Linked DNA regions of Homo sapiens: all the other regions are linked to region 3. Evidence: promoter capture Hi-C in human tissues and cell types (Jung and others, 2019). All regions are on one chromosome and are shown on one strand. Each heading gives the region's core, a stretch centred on a gene start or on the middle of the fragment in contact. The rest is flanking DNA. Distances are from core to core; before and after follow the strand shown.

Region 1 (3,429 bases), core at 700-3,199, 180 kb before region 3:
ATCCTCTGGCCTCTGCCTCCCAAGTTAGCTGGGGCTACAGGAGCGTACCATCACACCTGTCTAAACTTTTTATCTTTTTGTAGAGACAGAGTGTCCCTATGTTCCCACGCTGGTCTTGAACTCCCGGCCTCAGGCGATCCTCCCGCTTTGGCTTCCCAAAGCACTGGGATTACAAGTGTGAGCCGCCGTGCCCAGTCCAGTCATTTCTGATCTTCACTTTTCTCATTATGAGAGGGTGGTAATAACACCCAGCCCCTAGGTAACTAAGATAACATCATGCGAGCTGCCAAAACCTGTGGCCAGCACCTACTTTGGTTCTACGATCGGGTGGGTCACGTCACCCCACCCTAGCCCCTGCAAAAGACATCCTCAGGACAATATTTACTGCTTCTTCCTAAGGAGAGAAGGCCTGATAGTGATGAGGTTATAGCTGGAGTTCAGGTGCACCATCAACTCAGTCTCCACCACCTTCCCCAGCCCCATTTCCACCTCCAAAAACTCTGGGCAAGACCTCTGGGCTCTTGATCCAAGGCTGTTACTGGCTGTAGGACCTTGTGCAAGTCTGAGCCAAGAGCCTCTCTGAGCCTTCATTTCCTCAGCTGTAAAATGTGGATGCCCTTGTCCTCTGAGTACTCAAACCCCACATACATCTCCTATCTATCTCTGGCTGGTGAACAGACGCTTTCAACATTCAGCCACGCATAACAAATACAAAGCAAATGAATCGACAAGTGAAACTGCCAGTCTTGCAACGTATGGGATTTCATGAAGTTGGTGGAAGCAAAGCAGGAGAAATGGAACAGCCGCTGCCCACAGAGAAAGGGAACGTCTGCAAGGGAAGTGACCCAGACCCGAAAAAAGGCACTGGACTATCAAAGGATTCAGAGTGATCCTTGAGTTTGAGGAAGCTCTCAAATATTTTTGCAAAAATGAATCTCTTACTGCAAAAACCAGTTCAGAAGGGAAGGATGCTACATACTCAACTATTACAAGAAAAAGCAAGACTTCCAGTGTTAACATCTGATTCATTCTTGGTTCATTTTAAGGCGTGCGTGGTTGCAATCATAATCTAAACTCCGTTAATCACGGGGTAAAACTAATTTATCTTCGTAATATTTAGCTTCTTTTTCTAGGTAAAATCCCAATCAGGCCAGGTTTTCCCCACCATCTTGGTGAATTGTTGGTCTTCTTTTAAATAGATTCACCTCGGGGGCCTTCCAGGGTACAGGATGTAGTGGGGAGTCCTCCAGACGCCTGTCCCGGCTTTCCAGTCAAGACCACAAACATCCTACCCCCAATAGAGAGAAAGCCCCAAAACAGCTGGGCGTCCCCGAAGGCGAAGTACCGTAATTCCCCAGGGCCTGCCAACCACCATCGCAATGCAGAGAAAAGTCTCCGCCCGCCGGGCCGAGTGCTCCCCGCGCCCCCCACCTCTTAACAAGCGCAAGGTTGCTTTCGTCAACCCTTCTGTTGTACAGAAAGAGAAACTGAGGCCCGATGGGCACAGACTTGTTGGCCCACTTCCACTCGGTGGCAGAGCTGGCCCAGGGAAAAATGCAGGTAACAACAGTGAAGACTTGGTAAGCTCGCTCCACGTGCCGAGCTGGGACCCGCGGTGGCCGTTTCTGCTGGGGGCGCCTAGTACGTAGTTGGCGCTGAGGAAACCTGAACCAAGAAAGCCGAGCCCCCCCGCAACTCTCGGCCCCTCACGGGGGTGGGGCCTCCGTTGGGGTACGGCCCGCTCTGCAGCAGAGCCCACCGCCCCGGCCCGCACCCCTCGCCCCGAAGTTAGGCTGGAGCCCCCACCCCAGCAGCTCGGTGGGCCGGGGTCACAGCGGGGCCGCAGCCTGCGACCGCTTCGGGGGCCCCGCCGCTCCCCCTGCTTCCCCTCCCCCCGGGAGGGAGGAGGAGACTCCGCGGCCCTCCCTCGGCCCCTCCGGCGGCGGTCGCAGCTGCACGGTGCCCGCTCTACCCCGCCGCAGCGGCTGGGACGTACGGAGCCCGCAAGTCCCGGCCCGAGGTGAGCGGGGGCGGCAGGCCGGGGGGCGGCAGGCCAAGGCGGCCCGGGAACTTGCTCCAGGCCGCGCGCCTTCCGCGGGAAGGAAGGGGTTAAGTTGTGGGGCGTGCTGGAGGAGCAGACACAGTCGGGGCGCCCGCGGCAACCCCCGAACTCAGAGCAGAACTTTCTAGACGCCTCCCCGGCCTCCCTCAGCCCCCGGAACCCCAGGTCTCCGGTGGGGAGGGGCCGCGGGGTGATGGGGGAGGGGAGGCGCCTCCGGAATGCCGCGGCCCGGGCCGGACGGGAGGGGGCGGCGGGCGGGGACGGAATTTGGGACTCTCCCGGGGGACCCAACGTGGTCGCCATGGCGAATGCGGGATGGACGGGCGGCGCTGGCCAATCAGAGCACGGCGCCCTGCCCAGAGCCGCGGCGACTGCCAATGGGGGCCATGCGGTGGGGTGGGCGGGACCGCGCGGCGCGGGCCGGGAACCCCCTCCACCCTCCGCCCGTCGCTAGGTGGAGCGGGGCGGTTCGCAGGGCCAGCGGCTTGGGAGGGGTCGACTAAGTGAGGACTAAGGCGACGCAGGGCTGGGGCTTCAGTTTCAGTACCTTAGGTGGGGGTGGTGTCCACCTTCCCACCCCCGCTCTCCCAGGGCTCTTGTGGGGGTTGGATTGGTTTGGGTTCGGGAGGTCTGCCCACCTGTTAGAGCGTTCAGGAATCTTTTTAGTGCCTCTCCCCATCCTGTAGGTAAGGAAACTGAGGCCCAGAGAGGGCAGGGACTTGCAGATATCACACAGCATATCAGTGATGGAGCTGGGACTAGCGGGATGTCTGCTGTACAAGAGTGAAGAGTTCACGGTGTTGCCGAGAGGGGTGGGGCTGGGGTCGGGGTGGGGCTGGGTCCCCATGAAGGTTCACCCCACCATTCCAGCTGTGCGTATCCACTTGGCCTGGTGCCTGCAGACCCCATCGTGTAGGTGCTCTCGGGGGCATTGTGCCCCTCAGGTGGCTAAGATCCAGAAGAGGAGGCATCCCATCACCAGCTCCCTACTCTGGCCTTGCTGCTGGTCCGCGGTGTGGACACAGACACGTAGCTGTCCCTCTGGGCCTCAGTTGGTCCATATGTAAAGAAAGGAGTTCAAATCAATGATCCAGGCTGTCTCTGTGGCTCCTCAGTCTAAGATGGGGCTACCTGGGAATAGGCCAGGGGTGCCTACCCCTGGGCTTAGGTCCAGCCTGGAGGCCTAGCCGCCATCCCTTCCTTTCCCGCCAGCCAGCTCCCCCCAGAGGTCCTGCAGCTGGATCCTGGGCAGCAGGTCACAGGGACAGGTGCCCGCAGTCTGTGGGCTGACCAGCCTTGGGCCCTGCACTTATTCAATCAGGCTGTCCTCTGTGGTTTCCCACTGGGCTCTGCTTTCTGTCCACAGC
Region 2 (3,221 bases), core at 67-2,566, 160 kb after region 3:
CATGCTCGTTAAGAGTCATCACCACTCCCTAATCTCAAGTACCCAGGGACACAAACACTGTGGAAGGCCGCAGGGTCCTCTGCCTAGGAAAACCAGAGACCTTTGTTCACTTATCTGCTGACCTTCCCTCCACTATTGTCCTGTGACCCTGCCAAATCCCCCTCTGCGAGAAACACCCAAGAATGATCAATAAAAAAAAAAAAAAAGAAAAAGAAAAAAAAAAACAAACAAAAAAAACAAAATGAGTAAACTGAGGTTTGGAGTGGGAAAAAAAAAAAAAAGAAATTTCACTGATAAGGCGCTGTTAGAATATTTCAGGTGAAAAGAGGTAAACAATTCAAGGTTTTTGGACAGGTCTGGCTCTGGGCCAGTAGGTCAGATGATTGTGCCACTGGAATATTTACTTGAAATTGTATTTTATTAAAAAAAAATCTTTATCTAGAAACCTTAAAATATACACATTCATTTCTAAAACCTAAATGCTGCACAGGCCTATGGAATGTGAAAGTTCCTCTTCTGCTCTACCTAGCCCATGCCTTTCCCAGAGATAACTAACCTCTTAAAAGCTTCATATGTTTGCCTCCATATCTATTATTATATACTTTCAAACTAGCTTTTTCTTTTTTTTGAGATGGAGTCTCACTCTGTCACCCAGGCTGGAGTGCAATGGTACGATCTTGGCTCACTGCAACCTCTGCCTCCCACGTTCAAGTGATTCTCCTGCCTCAGCCTCCTGAGTAGCTGGGATTACAGGCGCACGCCACCATGCCTGGCTAATTTTGTATTTTTAGTAGAGACAGATCTTCACCATGTTGGTCAGGCTGGTCTCAAACTCTTGACTTCGTGATCCGCCCGCCTCGGCCTACCAAAGTGCTGGGATTACAGGCATCAACCGCCGCGCCCAGCCGCTTTTTCTTTAAATCTAACTAGAATGAAGCCATAAATATTGCTCTATGATTTGCTCTTTTTAATACCACAACCTTCTATATCAGTATATATGTAACTACCTCATGCATTTAAAGGCTGTACAGAAATTCATACTCTGTATTATCATAATTTCTTGACCACTATGCTATAAAAACTTGTGGCTAACCCAACTAACACTTTGGGGATGGTAGAAGGGAGTAGTCCAGGATTAGAGACATGGGACCTCTTCTGGGGAAATGTGTCATCCCCTGGGGAAGTGCTAACTCCAAACTCCTTCCTCACAGTGGTAAGGGTCCTAGGACTATGATCTGTGGTGTCAACATTGCCACAGCAGAGGGGAACTCCACTGGCTGCTCTAATACCCCACAGCCTTTCCATACAATCTGTATGAAGGTGGGATGGGAAACAAGATGCAAACAGTAGATTCAATCCAAATTGGGGAAAACATACCTGAGGAAGGGAGACTAATCACGTACTAAAAATAACTGGCAATGATTTGAGAATGTCAAGTTCCAGAAAACAAAGCCTTGAAGGGGAGAGAACAGGAATCTTGTTGCTCAGTAATTTCAGGGGGAAAAAAAAGCAAAAAGAATAGGGGAGCCTATAAAGTTACAATTTAATGCCAACACATAAAAGTATTTAGGAATAATTAAGAAGAAAACATCTTGGGGGTGCCTGTGAGGAAAGAAGTTAAAAAGAGGTTTGTTGGATCTTAAATTCTTAAACTTTATCATTTTTTCCTAAGGTTTTTATACACTGAATACAGAATAATCTATGCAGATTTCCATTTAGTACAATTTTTTTTTTTTGAGACGGAGTCTTGCTCTGTCGCCCAGGCTGGAGTGCAGTGGCGTGATCTCAGCTCACTGCAAGCTCCGCCTCCCAGGTTCATGCCATTCTCCTGCCTCAGCCTCCCGAGTAGCTGGGACTACAGGCACCCACCACCACGCCCAGCTAATTTTTGTATTTTTAGTAGAGACAGAGTTTCACTGTGTTAGTCAGGATAGTCTCGATCTCCTGACCTCGTGATCCGCCTGCCTCGGCCTCCCAAAATGCTGGGATTACAGGTGTGAGCCACCGTGCCCGGCCCATTTAGTACAATTTTAAGGTGATTGGATGATATCCAATACACGCAGATTTTTTTTTAAAATCTGACTAAATCTGATAGGATGGGCATGGTGGCTCATGCCTGTAATCCCAGCACTTTGGGAGGCTGAGTTGGGAGGATTGCTTGAGCCCAGGAGGCTGAGACCAGCTTGGGTAATGTAGCAAGACCCCATTTCTACAGAAAAAATTAAGAAATTAGCTGGGCATGGTAGTGCACACCTGTGGTCCCAGATACTCAGGAGGTTGAGGTGGGAAGATCACTTGAGCCTGGGAGGTCGAGGCTGCAGTGAGCCCTAATGGTGTCATTGCATTCCAGCCTATGTGACAGAGCTAGACCCTGTCTTTGGGAAAACAAAAACAAAAACAAAAACAAAAAACAAAAACTGACTAAATACGAAGGTAAGAAGACAAAAATTAAGTTTTTTTCCAAATTGAACTAAAGTGTGTTTTGAGTCAGTTTCTTCCAAAAGAGCAATTTTCCTTAAATGACCCAGAAAATGTCAACTATAAAATTTGTCAGAGAAGAAAATGAGGCTTTTAAAAAAACTGTAAATACTTTAAAGCCAGACTTTTTTTTTTTAAATAAAAAGGACCATCTGTGAAAACCAAGTGTAAAGAAGAGGTTAATCAGGTGGAAGAAGCTGGAAGGCATTTTATAAAGGCAAGCCTATGAAACGTACAAGGAAAAATCAAGAGCTGTTACCTCTAAATACTTTCTGAGATGACTACACAGAGTACTCTTGAGGGCTACAGCCACAGACAGGGCACATAAATGAACAAAGTAGATGATCTTTCAGATTTATCTGGCACTGAAAACCTATAGGTTTTAAACTGGAAATGGCTGTCATTCATGGTATTTTTTTTTTACAGAGAAGTGATGGACTGCAGGCAAAAGACTGGGTGAAAGCTAATCAATTACACTTTAGACAATTTTTTGTTTCATCCATTCAAAAAAAGCTTTACGTGGCCCACTTTCCAAGGACCACTGCTTTAAGACAATAAAACTGAGCTTACAGATTTTACACACAATACCAGAAGCCACCATAGCACAGTACACACTCTGTTGTCAGACTAGGTGAAAGTCCCAGCCCTGCAATATTTACTGATACACGTCCTAATTAACCTGACTCTTGACACATGTTAAAAAACAGACATAGTAACAGTTCTTATCTCACAGTACCACTGTG
Region 3 (3,105 bases), core at 497-2,996:
CCAGTAGAAGTGTTTCACCACGCGCAGGGGCAGACGGTAACGGACGTAATCACGGCAGCAGACGCTGTCTTCCATGTTGGCGCCGTAGGGGCCTAGGGGAGGGGTCCCCAGTGAATTCACAAGCTGGAGCCCAGAGAGGTCACCCTCGGCCCCAGCCCCTGATCTCGGCCTCTCCAGGCTCCAGGAAAGAGATGCAGTTTTTCTGTTCTCATGTGGAAGGATGGTGACCAGAGGATTCTGAGCCCTCCAAGACCCTACCCTTGGAGCTTCTGAGAAGCCACTTAGGGTCCAATGTCTACACTCTGGGACAGTCAGCTCTAGGAGCGGGGATTCAGAACAACTAAGCATCAGCTGTAGCCTGAGGCCCAATTTCCTCCTCTGACCAAAGGGGTAATAACAGTACCAGCTTCAGAGGGTCTTTAATGCATGAAAAGCACTCAGAAAGCCCAGCAGCTGGGAGCAATTCTTGTTTATAGCTGCCTGACCCCACTCCAGTGCTCACTCCTCCACCCAACACAGCAAAAGTATAGAGTGGGGTGGAGAAGAGGAGTCAGGAATCCATGCTGAGGACAGGTTCTGGACAAAAATGGATAGTGAGCCCAGAGCAGTGGCTCACGCCTGTAATCCTAACACTTAGGGAGGCCAAGATGGGAGTTTCACTTGAGGTCAGGAGTTCGAGACAAGACCGGTCAGCATGGTGAAACCCCATCTTTACTAAAAATACAAAAATTAGCCGGGCATGGTGGCAGGTGCCTGTAATCCCAGCTACTCAGGAGGCTGAGGCAGGAGAATCACTTTAACTCCAGAGGTGGAGGTTGCAGTGAGCTGAGATTGCGCCACTGCACTCCAGCCTGGGCAACAGAGACTCCATCTCAAAAAATAAATAAATAAAATGAAATAAAAAATAAATTTAGGCTAGACGCAGTGGCTCATGCCTGTAATCCCAGCACTTTGGGAGGCTGAGGTGGGAGGATCATCTGAGGTCAGGAGTTTGAGACCAGCCTGGCCAACATGGTGAAACCCTGTCTCCACTAAAAATACAAAAATTAGCCAGGTGTGGTGGTGCATGCCTGTAATCCCAGCTACTCAGGAGGCTGAGGCAGGAGAATCGCTTGAACCTGGGAGGTAGAGGTTGCAGTGGGCCAAGATTGCCCCACTGCACTCCATCCTGGGCAACAAGAGTGAAACTGTGTCTCAAAAAATAAAATAAAATAAAATAAAAAATAATAATAATAACATTTTAAAAAATGGATGGTGGGAGGGCAGCACCAGCTTTCCAAGGGAGAACCCCTTGCCCCAGCCCTGCCTTCCCCCACTCAGACCTGACCCTTAGAAGCTCCTCACCCACACCCCTAGGGCCCTATGCTTGAGTTTTCTGGGGCAGGAGATCCCGAGGCTATGCCCACCACAACCCCCAACCCAGGTGAGACAGATCCTAGACTCCAAGTCTTCAAGACTGCCCATTCAACAGACTTGTAAACTGAGGCCCAGAGAAGCACTGCAACTAGCCGAAGGCCGCAAGAGCCAACAGCAGACTGAGGTCTTCTGCTCTTGGTCCAGTGCTTGTCCAAGACATGAGGAAGACACCCCACCGTCTGCCCTGGCCTCTGTAGGGGGTCTTCCTGCTCCCCAGCCTCACCTGCCTCAGTTGCTTGAAGCGCCACAGCAAGGAGGACGAGGACAACCAGGAGTGCAGTCTGTAGGCGATCCATGCTCTGTCCTGTATGTCTCAGCCCAGGTGTCTGCAAAGGGACATAGGAAGACCTGCTATTTAAGGTGCTGGCTCCACCCACAAGCCTCACTTACTTACCTCTTAGTCACCGGGGTGCCCAGAGTCACTTGACATTCACATCTCAAAAGAAGAACTACCTCCCACTTCCTCCAAAGTGGAGAAATTCTCTTTGGCGGGGAACCACTCAGAGGGGACCCCCCCTCAACTCTGTCCTCGCCTCTGGTTTCAGACAGACTTGTAAAATCCCCCTCTTAGAGGCTTGTGCTCCCCAGGGTCTCTGCACTGTGTGGCCTTGGCCATGTCTGGGTGTCTCTGGGACTTGGTTTCCCCATCTGGAAATGGGGGAGATGGTTTCACAGCTCTGTTGACTTCACTGGTTGTAAATCAAGTGAGAACGTGGACCAACCCTCACCTAGAATTGAGGCCTGTCTTGTACCCTTAATGACGGCATTACTGGTCTCTCTTCAATGGGAGAGGCCTATGGACCCATTGACCCATCTGGGGCTTCTCGTGAAGTCCACATTTGGGCCAGGTCGTGGATTTCTCAACGGTTTATGGAAAGCATCTACCCACACTTCTGTCCTGCCTGATCTTCCTTCCCAGTGGCTGCCGGGCTCTCCCTCCCCCACTCCTGTCTCAGTCCCTCACCATGTCCATGTCCCGTTGATTCTGCTTCCTAAATCTCTCTCAGATCTGCTCCTTCTCTCCAACCCCACTGTTCCTGCCCAGTCCAGGCCACCTCCACCTCAGGCTGGGATGCTGGCCTCCTCAATGCCATCCCCACCCTGCAGCAGCCAGCGTGAGTGGTCCAGAGCTACACACTCTCTCTCCTGCTTCAGAACCCTGCCGTGGCTCCCCATTCACCTAAAGGCAGGTCCCGGGCTCCTGTCTGTGGCCTTCAAGGCCCCGTTTCCGGACAGGCCTTTCCCCACTGGTCTCCTTCCCCTGAGGGATCACACCACACTCCTCACACTTCCTCAAAAGGGACTGCGGCCTGTCCCTGGCCTTTAATGTCACTTTCCACATCTCTACCACATAAACTCCTACTTATGCGTCAAAGCTGTTTGAAATGTCATGTCCTTGGTAAGCACACCCTCTCAGGACTTCAAAGCCTTCTAGGGGACCTGGAATGTGGCCCTGAGCAGACTGGGTCAGGTTTTCTCTTTCTCAAGCCCCTCCCTAGAAGTCAGACTCCAAGCTCTAGGAGGCTGGGGTCTCCCTTCATTTTTCTTGGCATTCCCAGGGCCCTCTGAGGATCAGGCACATGTTGGGTGCTCAGAACACATGGGCTGGGTGCAGTGATTCATGACTGTAATCCCAGCACTTTGGAAGGCCCAGGCAGGTGGATCACCTGAGGTCAGGAGTTCAAGACC
Region 4 (3,179 bases), core at 495-2,994, 180 kb after region 3:
AATCTTAGTTGGCCTTGTCTGGTTATTGTAATGCAAAGTTTTTTTTTTTTTTTTTTTTTTTTTAAGGGAAATGGGTATCTCCTTATGTTGCCCGGGCTGGCCTTGAACTCCTAGGCTCAAGCAGTCCTCCAGTCTCAGCCTCCTGAGTAACTGGGACTGCGTTTTTTTGTTTTATTTTGTTTTTAATTTGGTCTTGAAGTGGAGTTATATAGGGTGGGGGGAGGGAGGATGGAGTATGACTTGAGGTGTGGGTTAGGTTCTGAAGCGAGCCTAGATGACAAAATAGCTTACAAGCAAAGCTACCCTTGAAATCTCAGGGAGGCAGCATGTTAATTGTAGGAATACCAGTGTTGCAGAACTCTGACATGGCCAGTGTGATATTGTAAAATACATATTTGGCCTTCATCCCTGTCTCCTGTGGCATATGACTCCTATAATCCTTGAAATCTCCAAAATGATTAGTGTCTTTTTATATGCTAAGGAGCTGACTGATGGCTGGCAGCCCCTAAGTAACTTTAGCATGGGGGCTGGTCACTTGAAAGACCCAGGCAGGATTAGAGGGTTGGGACCTTCAACCAATGTCCAACCTCTGGGGAGAGGAGAAGGCAGACGAGCTGATGACCACCAGCGTCACTGGTTTAATTAGTCATGTCTAAGTAATGAAGCTTCCATAAAAATCCAAAAGACTGGGATTGGGGAGCTTCTGGATAGGTGGACATGAGAGGTTCCTGGATGATGGTGCCCCAGAGAGTGCATGGAAGCTCTGTGCCCTTCCCACATGCCTTGCCCTATGCATTGCTTCATCTGTATCCTTTGTAATATGCTTTTATAATAAACCAGTATATGTAAGTAAAGTGTTCCTCTAAGTTCCTCTAAGTTCTGTGAATTGGTCTAGCAAATTAATAGAACCTAAGGAGGGGGTCATGGGAACCCTGATTAATAGCCAGTTGGTTAGAACTACAGGTAAAACAACCTGATTCTTGTGGTTGGTATCTAAAATGGAGGCTAGTCTTGTGGGACTCACCCCTCAACCTATGGGATCTGACGCGGTCTCCATCCAGGTAGGTAGTGTCAGAATTGAACTGAATTAGAGGACACCCAGCTGGTTGGTGTCTGCTACAGAATTGGTTGGTTGCTTGGTGTGTGGGGACATATCCCTCACAGAATTATACTGTGTTGATTGTTGAGTGAGAGAATAGCAAAAATGCTTTGGTTTGGTTTGGGTTTTTTTTTTCTCTATATCCTCAGGCAAGTTTTATTTCGGCTTTGGAAAAAACTGCTGTTTTTCTTCCTGTGAGCCCCAGATGAAGTTGTTGGTTTGTATTTAGGAGTCACAATATGTAAAAAATACAATGAATACAATCATTCATGCATAGTGAGGGAAGTATTTATATTCAGAGAGGTGCATGTGAATGAGGATCAGCTAAGGGAACCGATATTTAAATTAGTTATCTTTCTTCTAGTGTGTATAGGTGAATTCAAGATAAATGCACATTTGAGACCCTGCCCTTGTGCTATGGAAAGATAAATAAATCAATACTTTTTTTTTAACTTCTTTTTTTTCCCCCTCGCCAGGCAAGGTCGGTCTTGTGCTGTTGCCCAGGCTGTAGTGCAATGGCCCTCATAGCTCACTGTAGCCTGGAACTCCTTGGCTGAAGCCTTCCTCCCACTTCAGCCTCCTAAGTAGTGCACCATCACACCTGGCTAATTTTTAAATATTTTTGTAGAGAGAGAGTCTCACTGTGTTGCCCAGGCTGGTCTTAAATTCCTGGCCTTAAGTGATGCTCCCAGCTTGGCCTCCCACAGCTTTGGGACTGCAGGCATGAGCCACTGTGCCTAGCCTGTTTGTCTGTTTGTTTGTTTGTTTGTTTTTAATAGAGTTGGGGTCTCACCATCTTGCCCAGGCAGGTCTTGAACTCCTGGGCTCAAACAATCCTGCCTTGGCCTCCCAAAGTGCTCAGATTGCAGGTGTGAGCTAGTGCACCAGGCCTTAATTTCTTTTCTTTTTTTTTTTTCTTTTTCTGAGACGGAGTCTTGCTCTATTGCCCAGGCTGGAGTGCAGCGGCGTGAAATCTCAGTTCACTGCAACCTTCGCCTCCTGGGTTCAAGCGATTCTCCTGCCTCAGCCTCCCAGGTAGCTGGCATTACAGGCACATGTCACCACAGCCAGCTAATTTTTGTATTTTTAGTAGAAATGGGGTTTCACCCTGTTGGCCAGGCTGGTCTTGAACTCCTGACCTCAAGCGATCCTCCTGCCTCAGCCTCCCAAAGTGCTAGGATTACAGGTGTGAGCCACCATGCCTGGCTGAATTTCTTATTGTATGTGTTTCATAGATGCCTGAAAGATTATTGCAAAGCTGAATTTTTTATTGTATGTGTTTCATAGATGCCTGAAAGGTTATTGCAAATTGCTCCTTATGATAAACATTTAAAATATGGATTAAATTTCTTTTTCTGTGGTTTAGTTTTTAGATTCTTTTAGTCTCCTTTGCTACCGGAATATGTTAATTAAGCTTTGGTGTTAGAAGATTGACTTCACTTTGCCTAGTAATAAATACTAACAGCGGGCTCTCTGTTAGTAGTTGTTGTTCTCTAAATAAATTTTATGATATAGGAAAAGTCAGCTAAATTTTTAAAAATCTAAATAACTGTATCTTGGTAGAAGTGCCTTCTGGCCAGAAATAAGTCTTTATTTGAAATATAGATGAGTTAGCCAGATGGCAAATTCCTCTTAGTTGCTGTCCTGCATTTTGAAGTACAGTGTGACTTGAACATCAGAGTAAAAAATGTTGGAAAGCAATAATCTATATTTACTCACAAAAGGAAATGGATTGACCTATTGCTTTTGCTACTGAAAGTGAAGCCTTAAAACAACAGAACACAGAAACCTGATTCTGGTGTGTTTTAACATGTACAATCTAATTAATTTTAGAATTAGAAGGATATGGTGGCCAGTGATGTAAACACTCAAGTAGTTTGCCATCACATAATTCAATTCCATAGGAAACCAGATCTCATTACTTTGTGTCATGGCACTAGCTAAATGGAGTCATTTTTCAAGTTAGGAATAGCAATTATTTGGGGAGCAACAATGTAAGTTTTGTATTTTAAAACATGTGTAGTGTGCTATGTAAGAACTGAGCCCATTTTGTCCCACCACCCTGGAAATTAAATGGGAC

What was found. Contacts are between HindIII fragments. The study calls those that stand out against the background at their distance.
Region 1: a contact is called between the fragment with the promoter of CCDC102A here and the fragment with the promoter of CCL22 in region 3, in 1 of the 25 tissues and cell types used here (lymphoblastoid cells).
Region 2: a contact is called between a fragment that was not itself captured here and the fragment with the promoter of CCL22 in region 3, in 1 of the 25 tissues and cell types used here (aorta).
Region 4: a fragment that was not itself captured here is called in contact with the fragment with the promoter of CCL22 in region 3 in 1 of the 25 tissues and cell types used here (lymphoblastoid cells).

The regions. Positions count from the first base shown.
Region 1 is chr16:57,535,091-57,538,519 of GRCh38, reverse strand. It overlaps CCDC102A (coiled-coil domain containing 102A), which reads left to right and starts at 1,949. Exons shown (of 9, transcript NM_033212.4): 1 at 1,949-2,020. It also overlaps a transcript of ADGRG5 not described here. RefSeq lists a silencer at 1,707-2,656. The HindIII fragment of the contact is 34,087 bases long and covers 1-3,429 here.
Region 2 is chr16:57,196,899-57,200,119 of GRCh38, reverse strand. The region is part of intron 1 of RSPRY1 (ring finger and SPRY domain containing 1); the gene reads right to left. Among named protein-coding and RNA genes, the nearest start is that of RSPRY1, 12 kb to the right of the region's middle. The HindIII fragment of the contact is 3,972 bases long and covers 1-3,221 here.
Region 3 is chr16:57,357,424-57,360,528 of GRCh38, reverse strand. CCL22 (C-C motif chemokine ligand 22) reads right to left here and starts at 1,746. Exons shown (of 3, transcript NM_002990.5): 1 at 1,640-1,746; 2 at 1-92. The coding sequence starts at 1,712. The HindIII fragment of the contact is 38,120 bases long and covers 1-3,105 here.
Region 4 is chr16:57,179,436-57,182,614 of GRCh38, reverse strand. The region is part of intron 1 of PSME3IP1 (proteasome activator subunit 3 interacting protein 1); the gene reads left to right. Among named protein-coding and RNA genes, the nearest start is that of PSME3IP1, 5.0 kb to the left of the region's middle. The HindIII fragment of the contact is 3,333 bases long and covers 78-3,179 here.